2 separate regions of the Homo sapiens genome follow, and region 1 is linked to region 2. The links are contacts of gene promoters, found by promoter capture Hi-C in human tissues and cell types (Jung and others, 2019). All regions are on one chromosome and are shown on one strand. The core of a region is centred on a gene start or on the middle of the fragment in contact, and the rest is flanking DNA. Distances in the headings are between cores, read along the strand shown.

The links. Contacts are between HindIII fragments. The study calls those that stand out against the background at their distance.
Region 1: a contact is called between a fragment that was not itself captured here and the fragment with the promoter of TRAPPC9 in region 2, in 1 of the 25 tissues and cell types used here (hippocampus).

Annotation. Positions count from the first base shown.
Region 1 is chr8:140,519,007-140,522,612 of GRCh38, reverse strand. AGO2 (argonaute RISC catalytic component 2) reads left to right here. Exons shown (of 19, transcript NM_012154.5): 19 at 1-2,457. Among named protein-coding and RNA genes, the nearest start is that of CHRAC1, 9.5 kb to the right of the region's middle. The HindIII fragment of the contact is 4,793 bases long and covers 1-3,606 here.
Region 2 is chr8:140,455,957-140,459,920 of GRCh38, reverse strand. TRAPPC9 (trafficking protein particle complex subunit 9) reads left to right here and starts at 2,177. Exons shown (of 23, transcript NM_001160372.4): 1 at 2,177-2,282. RefSeq lists silencers at 1,323-1,632, 1,753-1,992, 2,083-2,472, 2,583-2,632 and an enhancer at 1,405-1,923. The HindIII fragment of the contact is 3,662 bases long and covers 415-3,964 here.

The DNA.
Region 1 (3,606 bases), core at 281-2,780, 63 kb before region 2:
GTGACAGTCAAAAAGACCTGTTCTAAAAGTCTTGCGACTTTTTCAGGGTTTTTTTTTTTTTTCATGTTTCTTTTTTTTTTTCCCCTCCAGTCTGAGATTTCTGTGTGGCTGATGGAGAGTGTGATTTGGGCGTAGGTCTTATTTGCAAACCTGCTCATGTTCTAAGCTTTCTTCAGGTAGTACCACCTGTCATCGCTTCTGCATATGATTTAAATGGATTTTTGTTTTTATAAAAGTATCATAAATTTAGAGATAAAATGGAGGGGACCCAGCTTTCTTTACAATGTGGATCTACCTCAGTTAAACAGTTGGGTGCTATTACTAAGTCTGTCAAATTAAATTGGAAAAAGTAACCAAACAGTGAGATACAACTCCACATGAAACTTGAAATTGTAATTTCCGTTTATTTAATGATATTTTTATTTATTTGTGCCTTTTATGTTGAACCCCAATGCATTGAAAAAATTCAGTATGAAACAGTACATATTTTATTTATATTACAGGTGGGAGAAAAGTCCAATTGGTCATGGAATTTGATAGACTTTTCCCCAGCCAACTGCTACAGTGTATTATAATCCCGACTGCCCCCCTGTGAAAAGAAAAAAAAAAATGTCCAAGAGCAAATTTAACATTTTACAAACAATAAAGTCCAAACTCCTCTATGCACATATTTATAGCTTATCACTTCATTTTCTGTGCCAGTGAAGGGGTGGCCAGAAAAAAAATCCCAAGTACCCTCATCATTGCTTTTCTAGCCATTCATGCCCCCTCTTCCTCTGGCACATTTTCTAAGAGTTTATTTCATAAGCAGCAAACGGACTGTTGTCGATTTCATCTCTCCTGACCTACCTGGTGGAGGTGCTAATGGCCATGGACAGAAAGGGGCGAGCCAGAGCTCGTGGCTTTGTGGAGGCAGAGGCCTGCATTCAGCAGCGGCCCTGTGTGCCTGTAAGTTAGGAAGGCTTTCTGACAGGTAAGAAAATGAGATAGGTTGATGACTTACCATGCTTTTATATTTGGCAGTTTACAATTCTAGACTTTTCCTACTATGGCGATCTTTTTTTACTTAATTCTTTGGAGGTAACAATATTTTGGAGTCTTAAGAATTTGATTTTATACCAATAAGAAATAAAAATTAGGGATCTTTCCTGTAGTATATAGTTTTACTATTTTAAAGAGATCTCTGAATTTTACAAGAGAACCAACATTCCTTAATGGCAGAACTTTGAAAGTTGATTTGGGAGGCTTTTTGCTGCAGGATCTCAAAAATAGAGAGAGAGATGATTCTACTTAAATGTTTTTAATTTTCTAACTTCCATCAGGTTGATACTTAAGCTCTATTTTGTAAAGAGTAAATCATCCTTTAGTATGCTGCATAAGATGATCAGCATTCTTGCACTTTCTCAGTAATAAGACGTGCCGGGCAATTGGCTCCCCAGGACGCATTGTGTTTTTAACCTAACGAGAGGACTTTGGGGCAGGTGATTAAATTTATATAGGTACCTCAAGAAAAAGAACCTGAATATGCTGCATTTTCTTTCTTTAGCTTTTACATGTAGCATTTTGTTTTGCTTTTGTTATTTTTGTTTTGATATATGCTTTTTGGACCCCAATAGACTGTTGAAAGAAATTTAAAAATTACTCTTGTAGGGATATAGTATCCTTAAAAAATAAAAATTTAAAAAAATTTAAAAAAATTGCTGCAATATCTGGCTCGAAGGTTGCCCTATATTAGAATAATACTTTAGCCAAATACACCTGAGGAGGCAGACACTGTGTTTATAAGCAGACAATAATGTTCTGAATCCTTCCTGTTCATGCTGCTTTCTTAATTCATTTCTCCATGTCATCAAGAGGTTGGATAACTTATTTCTAAGCTCAAGGTTAAAAATCATGTCACCTTTTTTTTTTTCCCCCAACACAGACCTCAGAAAAATTGCGATTGAGGAAGTAGCATGATCCTAAATGTGTTGCTGAAATCAGGCAGCCCGAGCCTCTGGTCTCTCCAGAGAGCCCGTCTTCACATTTCTCTATTCCTCAGCACTCACCCGAAACTGAACAGATGGGGAGTGGTCTTGATTGTCAAGATAAAACTGGTGAAGAAAGCTAAATGCTGAGAAACTGAGCATCTATTGTCGTGTTTAAGCTTAGCTGGGTCCTTTCTAGTTTGTTTTTACAGCTTACTAGGTGAAGTAGTTTGCACTATTTTTGCAATAAATTCATGGAAAACCTAACAGTTACTTGTTTTGTTTCTTACTGTGTGTATATAAACTAATACTAAAAGTTTGGCATAGTGTTTTTTCACCTCCTTACATAACCCCTAACATGCACAGAATGCTGTAAATCTGATAAAATATGATGTGAATGATATTTTATAAAGTTATTTTGTATGGTGTCAATTTTGTTTTGCCTCATAGTATGTCAGCAAAAAATTAAATAAAAGTCCTCCTATTTACAGCTGCCTCTTCCAAAAATCTTCAATTCCTCACCTACTTCTTTAGGCACTTCCTTCTGCACAGGTTATGATTCCAGCTCCCGAGGCAGAAGCGTGCCTTCAGGGATGGAAGTCCAGAGCCCTGTTCCACAAACAGAGGGCTGTTCCTTGAAGAATGTACTTGGCAGAGCTGGGCATTACCCGAGGATTTGGGTTTGGGGGATGAGAACCACAGGCATGAGTTGGACTAGTGGGAGCAGCCATGGTGTGTCGGATAGTTGGCTCTTTCTGCTCCTGCAGCATGAGAAAGGATCAAGAAGCCATTCAGCTAAGCCCGTCACAAGCAAAGTCCTGAGTTCCGTGTTGAGTGTGGGAACCTGAGCTGGCACCGTCCTGGTTCGCGGCCTGGCCAGCCACTTTGCTACTCTGTCCCGGCTAGGTTTACGCACATTGGCTACTCTCAAATCCCTGGTGGCCTCACCCTGACTGGGCTGTTTTTGACTTCTGCTGTCTATACTGAGATGACGACGTGCTGGGAAAGGAAAAGGGGGCTTTTCCTTTTTTTTTTTCTTTTTTGAGATGGAGTCTCACTTTGTCACCCAGGCTGGAGTACAGTGGTGCAATCTCAGCTTACTGCAACCTCTGCCTCCTGGGTTCAAGCGATTCTCCCACCTAAGCCTCCCGAGTAGCTGGGACTACGGGCCTGCACCACCACCATGCCCGGCTAACTTTTGTATTTTACTAGAGACAGGGTTTCATCATGTTGGCCAGGCTGATCTTGAACTCCTGACCTCAGGTGATCTGCCCCCCCTCGGCCTCCCAAAGTGCTGGGATGACAGGCGTGAGCCACCGTGCCCGGCCAGGCTTTTCCTTTTCTTAAGAAAGCCCCCAAATGGCAGCAGATCCCTAGGCTGTACATCACTGCTGAGGCAGGCCAAGATTTTGTCCTTATTTCAGGTTTCCAAATTTTAAGAACAATGTTACAGAAAAATGTGAAAATTCAGATAAAGAGCTATCTCTAGTCACGACACATAGGTAATTAACCTTAACATTCTGATCTATCTTGTTCCGCAGTCTTATTTTTTTAAACAAAAATCAAGATTTACTTTTTTCTTAATGTATCTAGAACCCTTTACTACTTCTTAGTATACAAAGCACCTCTGTGCCCACTG
Region 2 (3,964 bases), core at 928-3,427:
TAACACCATGAGGTAGCCACGTTGGGCAGCTTGTGCGTTGTCAGGGAGACACTCTTCCTCAGCCCCTGGGCACCTCTGTTGAAAACTTCCTGGCTGTCTGGCAGGCTGGAAATCAGCTCTATTTGTTTTGCCCTGAAGATATGTTTTATTTATAACTCATTCTGACTCTGTAGAAAATAATTCAATAAAAACTCAATTGGTTTTCCACTAGCCCTGAGCAGGGATGAGGGATAGTATCTTATTTTATAACACATGTGATAATAAAACAGCCCTGGTCACATAGCCCAGAGCGGGTAAGTGCCTGCTGGCTGAAAGGAAAAATGCTGGCTCAGACCATTTCTCCCTTGCTGCTGTATGTGCTGAGAAAACCACTCCTGTCCTCTTTACTTTTCCATTTTAGGATTTTTTTTTTTTTTTTTTTTGAGATGGGCTCTCTCTGTCACCCAGGCTGGAGTGCAGTGGTGTGATCTTGGTTTACTGCAGCCCCCGCCTCCCGGGTTCAAGAGATTCTCCTGCCTCAGACTGCCTAGTAGCTGGGATTACAGGCATGTACCACCACGCTCAACTAATTTTTGTATTTTTAGTGGAGACTGGAGTTTCACCATGTTGCCCAGGATGATCTTGAACTCCTGACCTCAGGTGATCCACCCGCCTTGGCTTCCCGAAGTGCTGAGATTACAGGTGTGAGCCACCACACCCAGCCCTTTTTAGTGTTTGTTGTTGTTGTTGTTTGAGATAGAGTTTTGCAGTTGTTGCCCAGGCTGGAGTGCAATCGCATGATCTCGGCTCACTGAAACCTCTGTCTTCCAGGTTCAAGCGATTCTCCTGCCTCAGCCTGCTGAGTAGCTGGGATTACAGGCGCGCGCCACCACATCTGGCTAATTTTGTATTTTTAGTAGAGACGGGGTTTCACCATGTTGGCCAGGCTGGTCTTGAACTCCTAACCTCAAGTGATCCACCCGCCTCAGTCTCCCAAAGTGTTGGGATTACAGGTGTGAGCCATTTCTCCTGGCCAGGATTTTTTAATTGAAAAAGAAATACATGTACATGTTAAAAGATTCAAACAGAACATTAAACATACATAACGGAGAGCGGCTCTCTGTTTTCAATTTTCCCTGCGGATGCCACTGTTAATTCATGTGCTGGGCATCTTAAGTCTGTAAGCCTCCCCCATCTCCTGCTTTATTTTATTTTATTTTTGAACCCAGAGGGGTTTAAATCCTTAAATGGCTTCTGCCCGCACTTAGCAAGCTTGGCGCCTTGGCACTGAACTAACGACAGCTGTCCTAGCCCCTGTCGCCTCTTTGGAACCTTTTATGTGGATGGATTGTTGGGGCCCTCAAAGTCGGGAGTGCCATGGTGCCAGCTGGGGATCAAGACCGCGCGCCACACAGGGGGAAGCCGGCCCAGGCTGGGGCTCGCACCTCACGTGCCTCCCGGGCCCTGCGATCCTGGAGGCGCTCCCAGGCCGCGCGCGCCACGGTCACCCACCCACGTGGGGGGCACGACCGTGGGAGTCACGGGGGGTACCGTGAGGGTCACAGGGGGTGCCGCAGGGATCCACAGTGGGCTTCCGCGGGGCCTCCACCCCTGAGCTTCACAGAGGAAGTGAAATTTGAGCTGCGCGCCCTGAAGGACTGGTAAGCGGCGGGGACAGAACTGGGCCTCCTTCCAGCTGCGCCGCCCCAGGTGCAGAAGCTTTCCTCCTAGTCTCTGTTCTCTTGCTCCGGTCCCTCCCTCCCTCCTCGCTCCATCTCCCTCCATCTCCCTCCTTCCCTCCTCCTCTTCCTCCCTCCTTTCACCCCTCCTTTTTCCCTCCCTCCTCCCTCCTCCACCCTCTCCCTGTCCCCCGCTTCTCTCTCTCGCTGCCCCTCCCTCCTTCTTTCACCCCTCCTCCTCCTACTCTCCTCCTCCTCCCTCCCCGTCCCCGCTTCTCTCCCTCGCTCCTCCTCCCTCCTTCTTTCACCCCACCTTTTTCTCTCCCTCCTCCCTCCTCCTCCTCCCTCCCCATGTCCCCTCCCTCCCTGTCCCCTCTTCTCTCCCTCGCTCCTCCTTCCTCTTTTCTCCCTCGCTCCTACCCCCTTGCTTCCCTCGCGTCTCTTGCAAAACCCGGGACGGATCGGGGGCCCAGGCCTGGCCTCCGCGCACGCGCAGGAGCAGCGCCGGCTCGGCCGCCAGTAGGAAGCGCCAGCCCAGAGCCTGGGAAGTGGCCGCAGAGGCTGCTCGGCCCCGCTGCCCGCCAGGTCGTGGGCTCCCGCTCCGGGCCCGGGGCCACCGGCTGTGTAAGTGCAAAGCGGGGGGGCTCCCGGTCAGGCAATTCGGACCGGCTGCGGGGAGGGCTGCGCGGCTGGCCGTGGAGTCGGCGCGTCCCGCGGAGGGGCTCGCCCGGCCCTCACCTGTCCGGGCGGAGCCCGCCACACCTGTCCGGGTCCGCTGCCGGGCCGGGGTTCAGCGTGCACCTGCTCGAGGCGCCCTTGCTCCTGTTGGCGCTCTGCTTACATCTGTCCAAGGCCGTGTCCCACACCCGCTGAAGACTCGGCGGACACCTGTCCGGGACCCGGCCCACACCTGCTGCCCGGGCCGGCTCTGCTCTCCCGAGCTCGCGGCGGGGGTCCCCTTCCCCTCTGTGCCTCCGAGCTGTCTCCGCCTGGCTTCCCCTCCCGGGCCGTCCGCGGCGCTGGAGCCCCCCGCCCCTGGGCCTGGCTAAGCCCACTGGAGCCCGCGGGGTCTGGGACGCGCGGCTGGGGCCTGGGGCCCAGCACAGCCCACGCCCCCGGCGCTTTCCCCGCCCTGAGTTCCCGGACTTCTCCCCTAGCCCTTTCCCTCCTGTCTCCTGGATTCAAAGTGCCTGCGATCTAGCTGGGCGGCATCAGGCGGTGCTCTCTGGGATAAGCGCGCTGTCAACTCCAACTTATCCCAGGGAACCCTGGGGAGAGGAAGTCAGGCTACTGGCCTGTGGTCTTCTCCCTGTCAGCCCACCCCAATCCCCTCCACCCCTGCAGACCTTCCCAACGTGAATGTCTGTTAACCGAAAGTTTTCCCGTGTTAGGATGCGTTGTCTGTCTTCAAATGTTTCTATAGAGAGAGGAATTAAAACGCTGGAAGCAAGGCCCAGTTGAAAGGTATGGGGGAGTGACTTCCCTTCCATCCCTCACGGCCCCAGTTTAAACTGGTGACTGTCCCGTGTTTCTAAGGTAGTCATAGCTACCTATGACATCTTTATTTGTTAACCTGAAACAAAGCACCGGGTGGATGATGTTGGAGGCCCAGGAACATTGCCGTCCTAAAGATCTGGCTAGGTTTTGTTGTGTGTGTTTGTTCGTTTTTTTAATTGTGTGGAGGACTAGTAGTGTAGAGGGAAAAACAGTTGTCCGGAAACATGTAAACAATAAATGTTTCAGAAATCTAGTGTGTCAAAAATAACAGCTTCATTGAGCCTCGATTACCTGCCATAAAATCCACTGCTTTAAAGTGTACAATTCAGTGATTTTTCTTTTTTTTTTTTTTTTGAGACGGAGTCTCGCACTGTCGCCTGGGCTGGAGTGCAATGGCACGATCTTGGCTCACTGCACCCTCCGCCTCCTGGGTTCAAGCGATTCTCCTGCCTCAGCCTCCTGAGTAGCTGGGATTACAGGTGCCTGCCACCATGCCCGGCTACATTTTTTTTGTATTTTTAGTAGAGACGGGGTTTCACTCTGTTGGCCAGGCTGCTCTCGAACTCCTGACCTCGTGATCCACCCGCCTTGGCCTCCCAAAGTACTGGGATTACAGGCGTGAGCCACCATGCCTGGCCAATTCAGTAATTTTTAGTATATTCACACTTGTGTTACCATTGTCATTCCAGAACATTTTCATCACCCCAGAAAGAAACTCCATACCCATTAGCAGTCACTCCTCATTCCCCCCTCCGACAGCCCCTGGCGGCCACCGGTTTACTTTCGATATATATAGATTTGCATATTCA